Linked DNA regions of Homo sapiens: region 2 is linked to region 1. Evidence: promoter capture Hi-C in human tissues and cell types (Jung and others, 2019). All regions are on one chromosome and are shown on one strand. The core of a region is centred on a gene start or on the middle of the fragment in contact, and the rest is flanking DNA. Distances in the headings are between cores, read along the strand shown.

Evidence for each region. Contacts are between HindIII fragments. The study calls those that stand out against the background at their distance.
Region 2: a contact is called between a fragment that was not itself captured here and the fragment with the promoter of C12orf56 in region 1, in 1 of the 25 tissues and cell types used here (H1 embryonic stem cells).

The regions. Positions count from the first base shown.
Region 1 is chr12:64,388,338-64,396,004 of GRCh38, forward strand. C12orf56 (chromosome 12 open reading frame 56) reads right to left here and starts at 2,421. Exons shown (of 13, transcript NM_001170633.2): 1 at 1,977-2,421. The coding sequence starts at 2,228. The HindIII fragment of the contact is 10,638 bases long and covers 1-4,951 here.
Region 2 is chr12:63,109,190-63,116,545 of GRCh38, forward strand. No RefSeq gene overlaps it. Among named protein-coding and RNA genes, the nearest start is that of AVPR1A, 38 kb to the right of the region's middle. The HindIII fragment of the contact is 4,430 bases long and covers 1-4,189 here.

The sequences.
Region 1 (7,667 bases), core at 1,171-3,670:
CTTAACTCAAAGTATCCTCCCACTTCAGCCTATGAAGTAGCTTGTACCACCGGCATGCACCACCATACACAGCTATTTATTTTTATTTTTGTAGAGACGGTGTCTTGCTAGGTTACCTAAGTCTCCAACTCCTAGGCTCATGTGATTCCCCTGCGTTGGCCTCCCAAAATGCTGGGATTACAGGCATGAGCCACCTTACCCAGTCTAAAGTTTTAAAAAACACTTAGTAAAGGAAATTTAAATTAAAAAAAAATTTAGTTCAAGGCCAGGTGCTGTGGCTCTTGTCTGTAGTGGATCACTTGAGCCCAGGAGTTTGAGACTAGCTTGGGCAACACTGCAAGATCCTGTCTCTACAAAAAAAAATTTTTAATTAGCCAGCTGTGATGGCATGAGCCTGTAGTCCCAGCTACTTGGGAGGCTGATGTGGGAGGATCGCTTGAGCCCTGGAGGCTGAGGCGGCAGTGAGCCGTGATGGTGCCACTGCACTCCAGCCTGGATGACAGAGTGAGACTGTCTCCAAAAAAATTGTTTTAGTTCAAGAGAATGGAAACAATGGTAGTGAGGAAAAGCAATGTTGTATCCCGAACTTTTCCTCAACAAAGAAAATAAATTGGCACAGTTACATTAGTTCACAAAGGTATTCCGAGTAGAAAAAAAATCTTTTTTTTTCATTTAATTTTATTCTTTTCTTACAGACTCGTTCAAAACAAGCCATGACTCCTCAGCAAAACAGCTCCATCAAGCGTCTCGCCAACCTCTCCCTTGGGGCTCAGTCAAGGGAATGAAAAAACGAGGCTAGACACCTGTCCCCAACGGAAAAACCAAGAACACACCTGGAGAGCAGCTCAGACAAAGGGAGCCAGGCGGGGAAAACAGTAATTGGAGAGGAGACCGTGCTTCCAGTCTGTTGCTGGTTTACAAGGTAAATCTATTCCTGGACGAAAGGGGTACAGGAACAGCACCCGAAAACCGGCGACAGGCTGTGGCAGGCCCGACGTCTTTCAAGCCCAGCTCCTAGCGTCGACGCCCCTCCTTCCAAGACGTTTCCCAGCAGGCCCTGCGCCCAGTTTGGATCAAGTGAGCCGCCTGAGATTGCCAAGCGTCCTGTGCGCATCTCATTAACGCATCTGCTTATTCATGCATTTATTCTTTTGCTGGGGAGGGGGTGGAGGGGAACGGTGTCTCACTCATTCTGTAGCTCAGGCTGGAGTGCAGGTGGGGCGATCTCGGCTCACGGCAACCTCCGCCTCCCAGGTTCAAGCGATTCTTGTGCCTCAGCCTCCCAAGTAGTTGGGATTACAGGTGCACACGACCACGCCTGGGTAATTTTTGTACTTTTGGTGGAGACGGCGTTTCACCATGTTGGCCAGCCTGGTCTCGAACCCCTGACCCCCGGTGATCTATCCACCTTGGCCTCCCAAAGTGTAAGGATTATAGGCGTGATCCACGGCACCCGGCCTTATGCATTTATTCTTATTGAGCATCTAACATGCTCTAAGCATCGGGGGCAAAAAAGTAAATGAGATATAACAGCACTTAACACACAGCATTTATTTGCACGGGTGTTGGCTTTCTAGCCCTCCAGCGACTGCTTCTAGGTAGGGGCCCTCTTTCGTTTTTGCATCCTCCGAGTCTAGCACAGTGCCTGGCACTGACTAGGTGCTTTGTTAACAAAGGAATGACTTTAAAAGGTATTTTTGATAGGGAGCTCGGTTCTCAAACCTGTAGCCCTACGTGGGGTAGGGGAGGCGGGAGAATGGGTGAACAGGCAGACACGAGGAGAATGGGAGACGTGTTTGTATTAGGAGTGCTCACAGCAATCCACAGCTTCCCTGTGTTCCTCGTTCTCAAATAAGAGGAGGGGAGTCGAGGGCAGGATGGGGCAGCCCTCCCCGCGCAGGAGGGCTGGGTTTGGGGGCCCCAGCCGGGAGTTCTCACTGCGCTCCCGAGCCCGCCTGCCCACCCGCGCCGCTCACCAGGTCAATGGCCACGACGTCCCGCAGAGCCACTACCCGCCGGATGGACTTGGGCGGGTTCTCGGTTAGGTAGACGAGCCGGTCGCTTAGCACCACATACTTGAGGATGTGGTTCTCAGAGTTGGACACCACGATGCATGGCTCGTAGGCGCGGACCGCGTCGTAGACCTCGGGCGGCAGATGCCGCCGCAGGAACACATCCAGGCGGCTGTTCCTGCGCGCGGGGAAGCCGGACGGCAAGGGGCTGGCCATGCCCGGCGCCCGCAGCGTGGCGGAGTGCTGGGACTCGAGGCCCTCAGCTCGCCCTCTCCCCGCCCCCGCGCTGGAACCCGCGCGCCACAAAGCCGCCGGCCACGCGTCGCCTCCTCTCCAGGCGCGGGGACCCGGGCCGCAACTGCAGGAATCGACGCTAGGTCGGCTTCCCTGGAGCGCCCTCCCCAGCCCTGTCCAGCCTCTCGATCTTTGTCCTAACCTCAGACGGCGATGGGCGGGGCAAGACGCTGGTCCTTCAGGCCCGAGTTGATGGGCACCTCGGGCTCATCACCGTGAAGTCCCCTGCGGCCGAAGGGCGGTGGATTTTTAGGGTCTCTCCCGCCCACCCCTAATGCCAGTCCCCACCACTGCGTACTCTGTTGCGGATCACACCATCCAATACAAACTTTATTGGTAATGGAAGCCAGCTTCAATCTGGTTTCCTGTTAGAAACTTGAAAGAGTTTAATTTACCGATTTATTTTTAACAACCCTAGAAACCTATTAAACCCAATCACACAGATTTAGCTTTTGGTTATAACATGGCCTGGCACAGCTTTCTGATATTGTCGGAGTGTAAACATAGGTCTTCTTTCTCCAACCAGTGAGAAAGGGATTTTTTTTTTCTTTTCTCTTTTTTTTTTTGAGACGCAGCTTTGCTCTTGTTGCCCAGGCTGGAGTGCAATGGCGCCATCTCGGCTCACCGCAACCTCCCCCTCCCGGGTTCAAGCGATTCTCCTACCTCAGCCTCCTGAGTAGCTGGAATTACAGGCATGCGCCACCACGCCCAGCTAATTTTGTATATTTTAGTAAAAACGGGGTTTCTCCATGTTGGTCAAGCTGATCTCCAACTCCCGACCTCAGGTAATCCGCCCGCCTCGGCCTCCCAAAGTGCTGGGATTACAGGCGTTAAGTCACCTCGCCCAGCCTTTGAGAAAGGGATTCTTCACATGAATTGATGTGAGCACACCCAAACCAACCTAAGGCATATGGTTTTGTTTCCAATGCCCAGGACAATCTATGCAGGAAGAATGAATGGGTGATGCTGGCATCTTGAAAAGTTGAAGCTGATAGACTGAAGAATGCGGATTACATACCCTGAGGCTGCAGAGGAGTAAGTATTCCTTAGTTTTTACAGGCCAAGAATAACTTACTAATTAGGTTAGAGAAATGAGAAGGGCACAACAGAAATGCTCTAAGTCAGAAGTTCCATTTTTTATTTCGAATCCTAGAAAAGTTATTCTCTTCCCCTCCCCATTGACCCAAAAACCTGATAATGAAACCATATCGTTCATTGCTGTGGCTGCCAGCAACCCTGAATCAAATTTGATATATTCTTTATATTCTCCCTTTCTACATATTTTATTATTGTATACTGTATGTTATAAGCAACTTCAAATCCCTTGTGGAAAGAAGGTATAAATATATTACAATCCATAAACAGATATTGTAGACTACACTAGTACAAAGGGAAAGAGAAATGTTTTGGTCTGGCTAAACTTTTTTTTTTTTTTTTTTTTTGAGACAGAGTCTCCCTCTGTCACCCAGGCTGGAGTGCAGTGGCATGATATCGGCTCACTGCAGCCTCTGCCTCCTGGGTTCAAGCCATTCTCCTGCCACAGCCTCCCAAGTAGCTTGGACTACAGGTGTACACCACCATGCCTGGCTAATTTTTTTTCTGTGTGTATTTTTAGTAGAGACAGGATTTCACCATCTTGGCCATGGCTTGTCTCCTGACTTCAACTGATCTGCCTGCCTTGACCTCCCAAAGTGCTGGGAATACAGGCATGAACCACCGCCATGTAAGGGTCTGGCTAGACTTAAGTCTAAGATCATGTTAAGGAACTCAAGTGAGTAAAGAGAAGTGCCACCTGCTGGCAAAATCTTAAATGACCTAGTAGTTAAAGTTTTCTTAGGATCTCATCACACATCTGAGCCTTCCTAACTTCATAAATGGATGAAAAATGAATGAACTACACCATCCGTAGCAACCTTTATTGATAAAAGATGCCGCATGGCTATTTCCTCCAAAATAAAGACTACTCATTATCTAAACCACTCTAAATAGAGTTTGTTGCTTCAAACTAACAGAAAGGCAAAGGCGCTTCACCTCTGCTGAATAGCCACACCTCACAAAAGCAGTTGAAAGATGAATGACTACAATATCAGAGGTGGAAAGTGAGGCCCACATAAGGGAAAGGCCTTATCTTAGTCTACTATTTTGTGTCTCTCAGGCTTCCTACTTCATACCTACTTCCCAGGACTAAGAGAAACAGAATGACTGGACCAGGACCAAAAAAGACAGCATACTTGATATATCTGCCAAGAAGCCCATCTTGAATAAGCTTTTGGTGACAAGTGCACTAAGCTTAGCAAACATTAAAATGAAGCACAGGCTGGGTGTGGTGGCTCATGCCTGTAATCCCAGCACTTTGGGAGGCCGAGGCGGGTAGATCAGTTGAGGTCAGGAGTTTGAGACCAACCTGGCCAACATGGTGAAACCCCATCTCTACTAAAATTACAAAAAATTAGTTGGGTGTGGTAACACATGCCTGTAATCCTGGCTACTCGGGAGGCTGAGGCAGGAGAATTGCTTGAACCCGGGAGGTGGAGGTTGCAGTGAGCTGAGATTGCCCTACTCCACTCTGGCCTGGGCAACAGAGCAAGACTCTGTATCTAAAATTAAAAAATAAATAAATAAATAAAATGAAGCACAGAAAGAAGGGAATTTGACTGGGAGATTGGTGATCAAGGTGACTTCAGTTAAACTTTTAACTTCGTGGCACACAGAGAAGGCAATACAATGGTTTCCAGGCACTGTACAGCAGTGTTGCCAAGGTAACAGCAAAATTTCTATTGCAGGAAATGGATTTAAATATATAGGAAAGATCACTAGATTTGGAGTCAGGAGAACTAGATAAGGGCACTAACTCTGTTATCTATCAGACTTTTGGAAAGTCACAACCTTTCCGAGCCTCAGTTTCATCATCTATAAAATGTGAGGATCAAATGTGATGAATTATAGACTCTATGAGCACTACAGACATATGAAGCATTCACATTCCCTTATCTTTTGGTAAGCTTTACATCAATCCATGGCCCATAGGCCACCTGCAGCCCAGGAAGGCTTTAAATGTGGCCCAACACAAATTCATAAATGTCTTAAAACATTATGAGATTTTTTTGCGATTTTTTTTTTTTTTTTTAGCTCATCAGCTATCATTAGTGTTAGTATATTTTATATGTGGCCCAAGACAATTCTTCTTCTTCCAATGTGGCCCAGGGAAGTCAAAAGCCTGGATACCCCTGTTTTACATGGTTAACCCAAATGCACCAAAGATAGGTACCCCCTCCTTATCTTGTAAGTTCATCCAAACTCAAGAAACATTTGGCAAAGGAACTCCTGCAATCAAGCACTTAATAGATGTTTCTTGACAAAATTATCAAAAGGAATGGGACATTACTTACCTGGACTAATCCTCAAATGCAGTCTCCTTGAATTTCATCAGAACAGTGGTCTTAGGTACAGGGATGGTCAATTTAAATAATTCGAAGCACAGTAGTTATGAGCATAGAACTGTAGAGCCAGATGACCTGGGTTCAAATTCCAGCTCTCCTATTCAGTAGCTGAATGACCTATGCCTCAGTTTCCCCATCTATGAAATGGAGATAATAGTACCAACCCCCAAAGGGTTATTACGAGGATTTAAAAAGTTTCAATAGTACCTAGAACAGGAACCTGGACTGGAGTAAATACTATATAAGCGTCTAAAGAACAAGTTGACTGGGCATGGTGGCTCACACCTGTAATCCCGGCACTCTGGGAGGCCCAGGTGGGTGGATCACATGAGGTCAGGAGTCCGAGACCAGCCTGGACAGCATGGTGAAACCCCATCTCTACCAAAAAATACAAAAATTAGCCAGCGTGGTGGCGGGCACCTGTAGTCCCAGCTACCTGGGAGGCTGAGGCACAAGAATCACTTGAACCCGGGAGGCAGAGGTTGCAGTGAGCCAAGATGGCACCACTGCACTCCAGCCTGGGCAACAGAGTGAGACTCTGTCTTAAAAAATAAAGAAAGAAAGAAAGAATAAGTTCAACAAGTATGTGATTTCCTGTTACATATGTGGTCGTTCTGCTCCCTATCTACAAGGTAATATTAAATTCTTCTGATTGGATACAAGTCTAACTTTCTGAGATTGACCCAAGGCAAATTTTACCTTTTTTGGGTCACATTTTTAGTGGAGAAGAGACCAGCAGGTTAGGCCATGAGAACCATGTAAGGATTCCAAACTAGAAGTACTCTTCAATGCTTCTAGGGATCCCAAGTATTCCCATTCCCCCCACTTGAAACTAAAGACAGACAGTACACACAGTAAGATATTTAGAATATGTGGCCTATAAATAGAACCTGACCTTTTTTTTTTTTTCTTGAGAAGGAGTTTCACTCTATCACCCAGGCTGGAGTGCAGTGGCGCAATCTCGGCTCACTGCAACCTCCACCTCCCGGGTTCAAGCAATTCTCCTGCCTCAGCCTCCCAAGTAGCTGGGATTACAGGCATGCACCACCATGCCCGGCTAATTTTGTATTTTTAGTAGAGACGGGGTTTCTCCATGTTGAGGCTGGTCTCGAACTCCTGACCTCAGGTGATCCGCCTGCCTTAGCCTCCCAAAGTGCTGGGATTACAGGCATGAGCCGCCACACCCAGCCCTAAACCTGACTTTTTAAAGGTGTCTCATTTAGGAATCTCTTAGTGCTTCAACTTAGTTGTTTTTTTTGTTGTTGTTGTTGTTGCTTGTTTTTTGTTGTTGTTGTTTTTGTTTTGTTTTGTTTTGTTTGAGACAGAGTTTCGCTCTTGTTGCCCAGGCTGGAGTGCAATGGTGCGATCTTGGCTCACTGCAACCTCTGGCTCACCGCAACCTCTGCCTCCCAGGTTCAAGCAATTCTCCTACCTCAGCCGCACAAGTAGCTGGGATTACAAGCATGCACCACCACACCTAGCTAATTTTTGTATTTTTAGTAGAGACAAGGTTTCTCCATGTTGGTCAGGCTGGTCTTGAACTCCCCACCTCAGGTGATCCACCTGCCTTGGCCCCCAAAGTGCTAGGATTACAGGCGTGAGCCACCGCGCCCAGCCCTATACTTATTATTAATGGATACTGATCATTTAAATATCTACTATTAGTAATCTACTATTAGTAATTAGATGACATACAAAGGAAAGATGTCATTGTTATAAAAACCAGACAAATGATTTGGATTAATGTTTTCTTTCACTGAATAATACTCCAATGCTCTATTTTGCCTCTCAGGCTTCCTGCTGCACATGTACTTCCTGTAAGAGGAACTAATGGTTGGAATAGGACCAATAAAGGCAGCATTCCTGACCTGTTTTCCAACTTCTTTCTCTGCCAAGAAGCCCATTATGCATAAGCTTTTAG
Region 2 (7,356 bases), core at 725-3,224, 1.3 Mb before region 1:
AAAGATAAGCAAGAATGAACCTCTTGAATAAGCTGGAGATCTGCCAGACTACTCCGGGCATGGGGAGCAGCTTGTGCAAAGACCCAGATGAGACAACTGAGTTTCTAGTGGCTGCAATTTATTGTGCTCGTGGAAGTAGGACCAGGGATGAGGTAAAGAGGTAAACAGGCATCTTATGTTAAAGCTTAATTTTTTTTTTTTTGAGACAGGGTCTTACTCTGTTGCTTAGGTTGGAGTGCAGTGGTGCAAACATGCACAGCTCACTCCAGCTTTGACCTCATGAATTCAAGTGATTTTTCTGCCTCAGCCTCCCTAGTAGCTGGGACTACAGGTATACACCACCACACTCGGCTAATTTTTGTATTTTTTGTAGAGATGGGGTTTTGCCATGTTGCCCAGGCTGGTCTCAAACTCCTGGGCTCAATTGATCCACCCACCTTGACCCCACAAAGTGCTGGAATTACAGGCATGAGTCACCGTGCCTAGGCAAAGCTTAAATTTTATCTTGCAGAGGATGTCATAGAAGAAAAATTCTGACCCACTTTCATTAATGGATTAGACAGAACAAGGTAATAGCTGTGCTACATAATTAAGAGACTGAAATGTAAACAATAAAACAAGACAATGACAAAATCACCACAGCTTTTTGGTAGAAATATTCTTAGAGAAGAAAAGTTAGTTGATATTTTTCTGGTCACCAATCCATATTTCTTAGTTTGGATCTGTTTCTGGCTCATACTCAAAAATGGAATCCAACAAATCCTGCCATTCCCTAGAGGACCAATAGTTCCTGTAATAACTATTCTCATGACATTTCCTGGATATGATACACTCTCTAGTCCCATATTTACAGATTTATAAGCCAATGTCTTTCTTCAGTGATTTTCTTGCATCCTCATGACATCATGCAATATGCCTCACAGCAAGGTAACAACTAGCCTGGTGGAAAAAGCAAAGGAGTCTCTAACGGGAACATTTCCTAACTGACACAGTATCTCCATCCATTACAACAGATTTGGTCAAAGCTTATTTTTTGTTCCAGAACAACTTGAGTTTCTCAGAATCCTGTATAATGTACCTCTAAACAAAATAATTACTCACCTAGCGAAAGTGGCCAGGATGTCTCTACTGGTTACATTCTTCCATGGGGCTGAGAGACGTAGCCCTATCAGAGAAGGAAGAGGAAAGAATATATTTTAGAATTTAACATCCTCAGTGTGATTTTATTTTCTGTACTAAGATTGTTATGAATTAGATCACGCTCTTTTCAGATGGAAAGAACATCTCTTCCTGAGTCATTGGTGGGTGTTTCCTGTAATTGACCTTTGGGACCGTGGAAGAAGCCAAACACCTTCCTTTGCCATAGGATAGAACATTGTATGTTTAGATTCTCTGAGTGGATTTTGTATATATTTCTGTCTGGATGACTTTTTAAAAACATACATTAATCTATCTTTATTGAGTACTATTACCTTGCAGTCACAAGCAGCCCAAAATGTAGAATATATGCTATTTAAAAGAACTTTTTAAAAAATTATACTTTAAGTTTTGGGATACATGTGCAGAACGTGCAGCTTTGTTACATAGGTACACACGTGCCATGGTGTTTTGCTGCACCCATCAACTCGTCATCTACATTAGGTATTTCTCCTAAGGCTATCCCTCCCCTAGACCCTCACCCCGTGACAGGCCCCTGTGTGATGCACCCTTCCCTGTGTCCATGTGTTCTCATTGTTCAGCTCCTAGTCATGAGTGAGAACATGCAGTGTTTGGTTTTCTGTTCCTGTGTTAGTTTGCTGAGAATGATGATTTCCAGCTTCATCCATGTCCCTGCAAAGGACATGAACTCATCCTTTTTTATGGTTGCATAGTATTGCATGGTGTATACGTGCCACATTTTCTTTATCCAGTCTATCATTGATGGGCATTTGGGTTGGTTCCAAGTCTTTGCTATTGTGAACAGTGCTGCAATAAACATATGTGTGCATGTGTCTTTATAGTAAAATGATTCATAATCCTTTGGGTATATACCCCATAATGGGATTGCTGGGTCAAATGGTGTTTCTGGTTCTAGATCCTTGAGGAATCGCCACACTGTCTTCCGCAATGGTGTAACTAATTTACACTCGCACCAACAGTGTAAAAGCAGGAAGATAATTCTTTTTTATTCAATTTTTAAAAATATTATTATGCCTACACATAAGCTGTCACATTTTCCTTAGTATGTTCATTATACTTTGGCCCATGGAAACCAATCAGTAAATGAATAATAGATAATTGAAAGCATTTTTAAAAGTCATCTTTATCTCTCAGAACAGCTTTAGATTTACAGAAAAAAATTGTGATGATAGTATAGAGTCCCCACATTTTCCCCTCATTCAGTTTTCTCTATTATTAACATCTTAGTATGGTACATTTGTTACAATTAATCAATGCTGTCACATTATTATTAATTAAAGTCCATAGTTTATTCAGATTTCCTTAGTTTTTACCGAACAACCATGTTAGTTATTTATTTTTACATTGACATGTAACAGATGTACATAGTTCTCAGGGCATATGTGACAATTTACGATGTTCATAAAATGTGTAAACATTAAATCAATGTACTTTAAATAAATATCATCTTAAATATTTTTCTTTTCTTTAGAACCATTTGAATTATTCTAACTACTTTGAAACAATACCTAGATTATTGTAAGCCATAGGCACCTTACGGATCTGATACTAGGTCTTATTTCTTCTATCAAACCATATATTTGTACCGATTCATCAACTTTTCTTCATACCACTCTTTCCACTACCCTTCTCAGGGTAATGTCCATTTTCTATTCTAGGATCCCTTCCTAGATACCTCATTACATTTAGTTTTCATGTCTCCTTAGGCTCCTGGTGGTGACAGTTTCTCAGTCCTGTCTTATTTTGGATGACTTTAATGTTTTGAGGTGTCTCAGTCAAGCATTTTGTAGGATGCTCCTCTATTGGAATTTGTCTGATGTTTCTCTCATGGTTAGAATGGGGTTAAGGGTTTTGAAAAAAAAACCACAGAGGTAAAGTACATTCTCATCATATCATATTCGAGGGTACATACTATCAAGATGCTTTATCACTGTTGCTGTTCTCCTTAATCCCCTGGCTCAGGTAGTGTTTGCTAGCTTTCTCCACTGTAAAGTTACGTTTTCTCCCCTCTCCACTAGCACTCTTTGGAAGTGAGTCACTCCGCACAGCCCACGCTGAAGAGGTGGGGATTTACGCTCCTTATCCTTAGGGAAGATTTGTTTCTTCTCCCCCATCTAGTTATTTATTAAGTAGTTTATTTATTTTTGTATTGACTTATGGAAATTTAATTTCTAGTTGGGCTTAATTTGTTGCTAAAGTTGTTTCAACATTGGCCATAGTGAACTCTCTCAGTTGGCTCCTGTGTCCATTTGATTCCTAAACTTGTATGTTCCTGTCTATGCAGGGTTGTTTTTTTTCTTTCTGTTGAGTACTTCCTAAGTTTCTAGCCCCATAAGAGGCTCCAAGCTCATTTTATGTAATTCCCACCTGAGTTCTAGAATGAGACATTTCTTCAAGGCACCCTGATTTCTTTACCTGGAGAACAGTACTAGAAAACAAGACCTTCATGTTCATTGTGCTTGTTGTTACCTTGGTATTATTGCTTTTAGACCTTCTCAACTGAAAGAGCAAGGAGATACATGTTTGTATACTAACCCATGTACATACAGGTATCCATACACATTTCCATATGTAAACATTTATATTAAGTTAAACATGAGCTCATACAGATGTGTCTAACTGTTCAATTACCTCATAGATCACTGTAGCCTTCTGGCCATGCTTATCTGTAAATTCCCACTCCAACAGTGAGAAATCGTCACCTACCCTCCATCACCTAATTGTTCGGTTTTAGTATGCACGTATAGGGGTGTCTGAATTGTTAGCCCATACCTTATGGGAAATACTTTTATCAACTATTGTACAGTGCACATGTGCAGTTCTAAAAAGAATGGCTTCCATCTCATTCAGCACCCTTTCTGGCTACCTTCTTCATGGAGGATGTTTCATACATTTCTGATATAGTCAGATTCTCTTGTTACAGTCTGTATTCCTTCCTGAATCTTCCAACTTGCTAAATGATTATTTTTAATTTGCATGCATTAAAGTTCAGTCTTTCTTCTGTAAAGTTCTATAGGGTTTGACAAATGAATAATGTCATATACTCACCATGAAAAACCCCATGCTTTACCTATTTAAATGTTCTATTGAACATTCCATCCCCAAACTGCAGAATATACACTTTTCTTATCTGCATATGGAAAATTCTCCAAAATCAACCATATGCTTGTTCATGGCAAGTCTCAATAAATTCAAAAAAATCAAAATCATATCAAGTATTTGCTTGCACCACAGTGGAATAAAATTAGGAACTCTCAAAACCACACATGCACATGGGAAGTAAACAAATTGCTCTTGAATGACTTTTGGGTAAACAACAAAGTTAACGCAGAAATGAAAAAGTCTTTTTTAAATGAATGAAAATAGAGACACAATATACAAAAACCTCAGGAATACAGCAAAAGTGATGCTAAGAAGAAAGTTTATAGAGTTAAATGCCTACATCAGAAAACTAGAAAGATCTCAAATTAACAATCTGACATGGCACCTCAAGGAACTAGAAAAACAAGAGCAAACTAAACCCAAAGCTAGTAGAGGAAAAGAAATATCAAATATCAGAGCAGAACTAAATGAAATTGAGGCAAAAAATATTGTACAAAGAACGAACAAAATGAAAAGTTTATTTCTTGAAATGACAAAATTGATAGAAGTCTACCTAGAATACTCAAGAAAAAAGAAACAAAAGATTCAAATTATTACAATAAAAATAATAAAGATGACATTACAATTGATGCCACAGAAATGCAAAGATCATCAGAGATGACTATAACCATCTCCATGCACACAAACTAGAAAACTAGAGGAAAGGGATAAATTACTGAAAACACAACTGTGAAAGATTGAACCAAGAAGAAATTCCGAACAGACCAATAATAAGAAATGAAATCAAATCAGTAATAAAAAATCTACGAAGAAAAAAACAGCCCAAGACCAGACAGATTCACAGCCAAATTTTATCAGATGTACCGAGAAGAACTGTTATCAATCTTACTAAAATTATTCCAAAAACTTGAGGAGGAGGGATTCCTCCCTAACTCATTCCACAAAATCACTATCATCCTCATACCAGAAACTGGCAAGGACACAACAACAACAAAAAAGGGAAATTAGAGGGTGATATCTCAGATGAACTTAGATACAAAAATCTTCAACAAAATATTAGCAAACTGAATTCGACAGCACATCAAAAAGATAATACCTTTGGGAGTCCAAGGCGGGTGGATCACCTGAGGTTGGGAGTTCAAGACCAGCCTGACCAACATGGAGAAACCCTGTCTCTACTAAAAATACAAAATTAGCAGGGCATGGTGGCGCATGCCTATAATCCCAGCTACTAGGGAGGCTGAGGCAGGAGAATCACTTGAACCTGGGAGGCAGACGTTGCAGTGAGCTGAGATTGTGCCATTGCACTCCAGCCTGGGAAACAAGAGTGAAACCCTGTCTCAAAAAAAAAAAAAAAAAAAAAAAAAAAAAAAGATAATTTATCATGATCAAGTCAGTTTTATTCTGGGGATGCAAAGATGATTCAACATATGCAATAAATGAAAATCACCATATAAACAATAACAAAAACATAATCATCTCAATAGATGCAGAAAAAGCACTTGATAAAGTTGAACATCCCTTCATGATAAAAAAAAATGTCAAACATCAAAGGAACACACTTCAAAATAGTAAGAGTCATGTATGACAAATCCATAGCCAACATCATACTGAATTGGGAAAAGTTGAAAGTATTCCTCCTAAGAACTGGAAGAAGACCAGGATATCCACTCTCACCCCTTCTATTCAACATGCTACTGGAAGTCCTAGCCAGAGCAATCAGGCAAGAAAAAGAAATAAAAAGCATCCAAATTGTAAAATAGGAAGCCAAATTATCTCTGCTGATGACATGATCTTGTACTTGGAAAACCCTAAAGATTACTCCAGAAGGCTACTAGACTTGATAAATGACTTAAGTTTTAGAATACAAAATTAATGTACAAAAATTGGTTGCATTTCTATACATCAACAACATTCTAGATGAAAACCAAATCAAAAACTTAATCTCATTTACAATAGCCACAAATAAAAATAAAGGAATACATATAACTTAGGAATACATTTAACCAAGGAGGCGAAAGACCTCTACAAGGAGAATTACATAACACTGATGAAAAAAGTCAGAGATGACACAAAGAAATGGAAAAATATCCCATGCATATAGATTGGAAGAATCAATATCATTAAAATGGCCATACTGCCCAAAGCAATCTATAGATTCAATGCAATTCCTATCAAATTACCAATGTAATTTTTCACAGAATTAGAAAAACCCTAAAATTAATAGGCAACCAATAAAAAACATGAATAACCAAAAACAATTCTAAGCAAACAGAACAAAGCCAGAGGCATCACATTACCTGCCTTTAAAGTATACTACAAAGCTATAGTAACCAAAACAGCATGGTACTGATACAAAAATAGACACATAGTTCAATGGAATAGAATAGAGAACCCAGAAACAAAGTCATGTGCCTGCAACCAACTGATCTTCAACAAAGTTGAGAAAAATAAACAATGGAGAAAGTACCACATATTCAATAAATGGTGCTGGAAAAATTGGATAGCCACATGAATAATGAAAGTGGACCCCTGTGTAGGGTAAAACTCTCTCAAACCATGTTTTTTTCTCTGCTCTCATGCCAGAACAATCAACACAGAAGATTTCTGTGACCAAATGTGTGTGGGTTTTCACACACACCCAAGCAGTGGACACCAGCTGGTTGTCCTCTAATTCGATTCCAACACTATCTACCTGGAGATAGTGTCAGATCCCAAAGGTTGAGGGCTCAGTCCTCAAAACTGTCTTCCCAACCTCCAGACACAAGGCACAAGTCTGGGCCTCTGGAACTTCTGACTGACTGGCTTCAAGCTGGGGTTTCTATGACCCCCTCCTTGGGCTTGGTTAATTTTCTGGAATGGCTCACAGAACTCAGGGAAACACTTAACATTTGTCGATTTGTTATAAAGGATATTGCAAGGGGTACATATGAAGAGATGTGGATGTGTATGGCAAGCTATGGAAGGAGAATGGAGCTTCCATGCTCTCCTTGGGCTCCACCCTCCAGGATCCTCCATGTGTTCAGCTACCTGGAAGCTCTCTGAACCCAGTTCTCTTAGGTTTTTTTGGAAGCT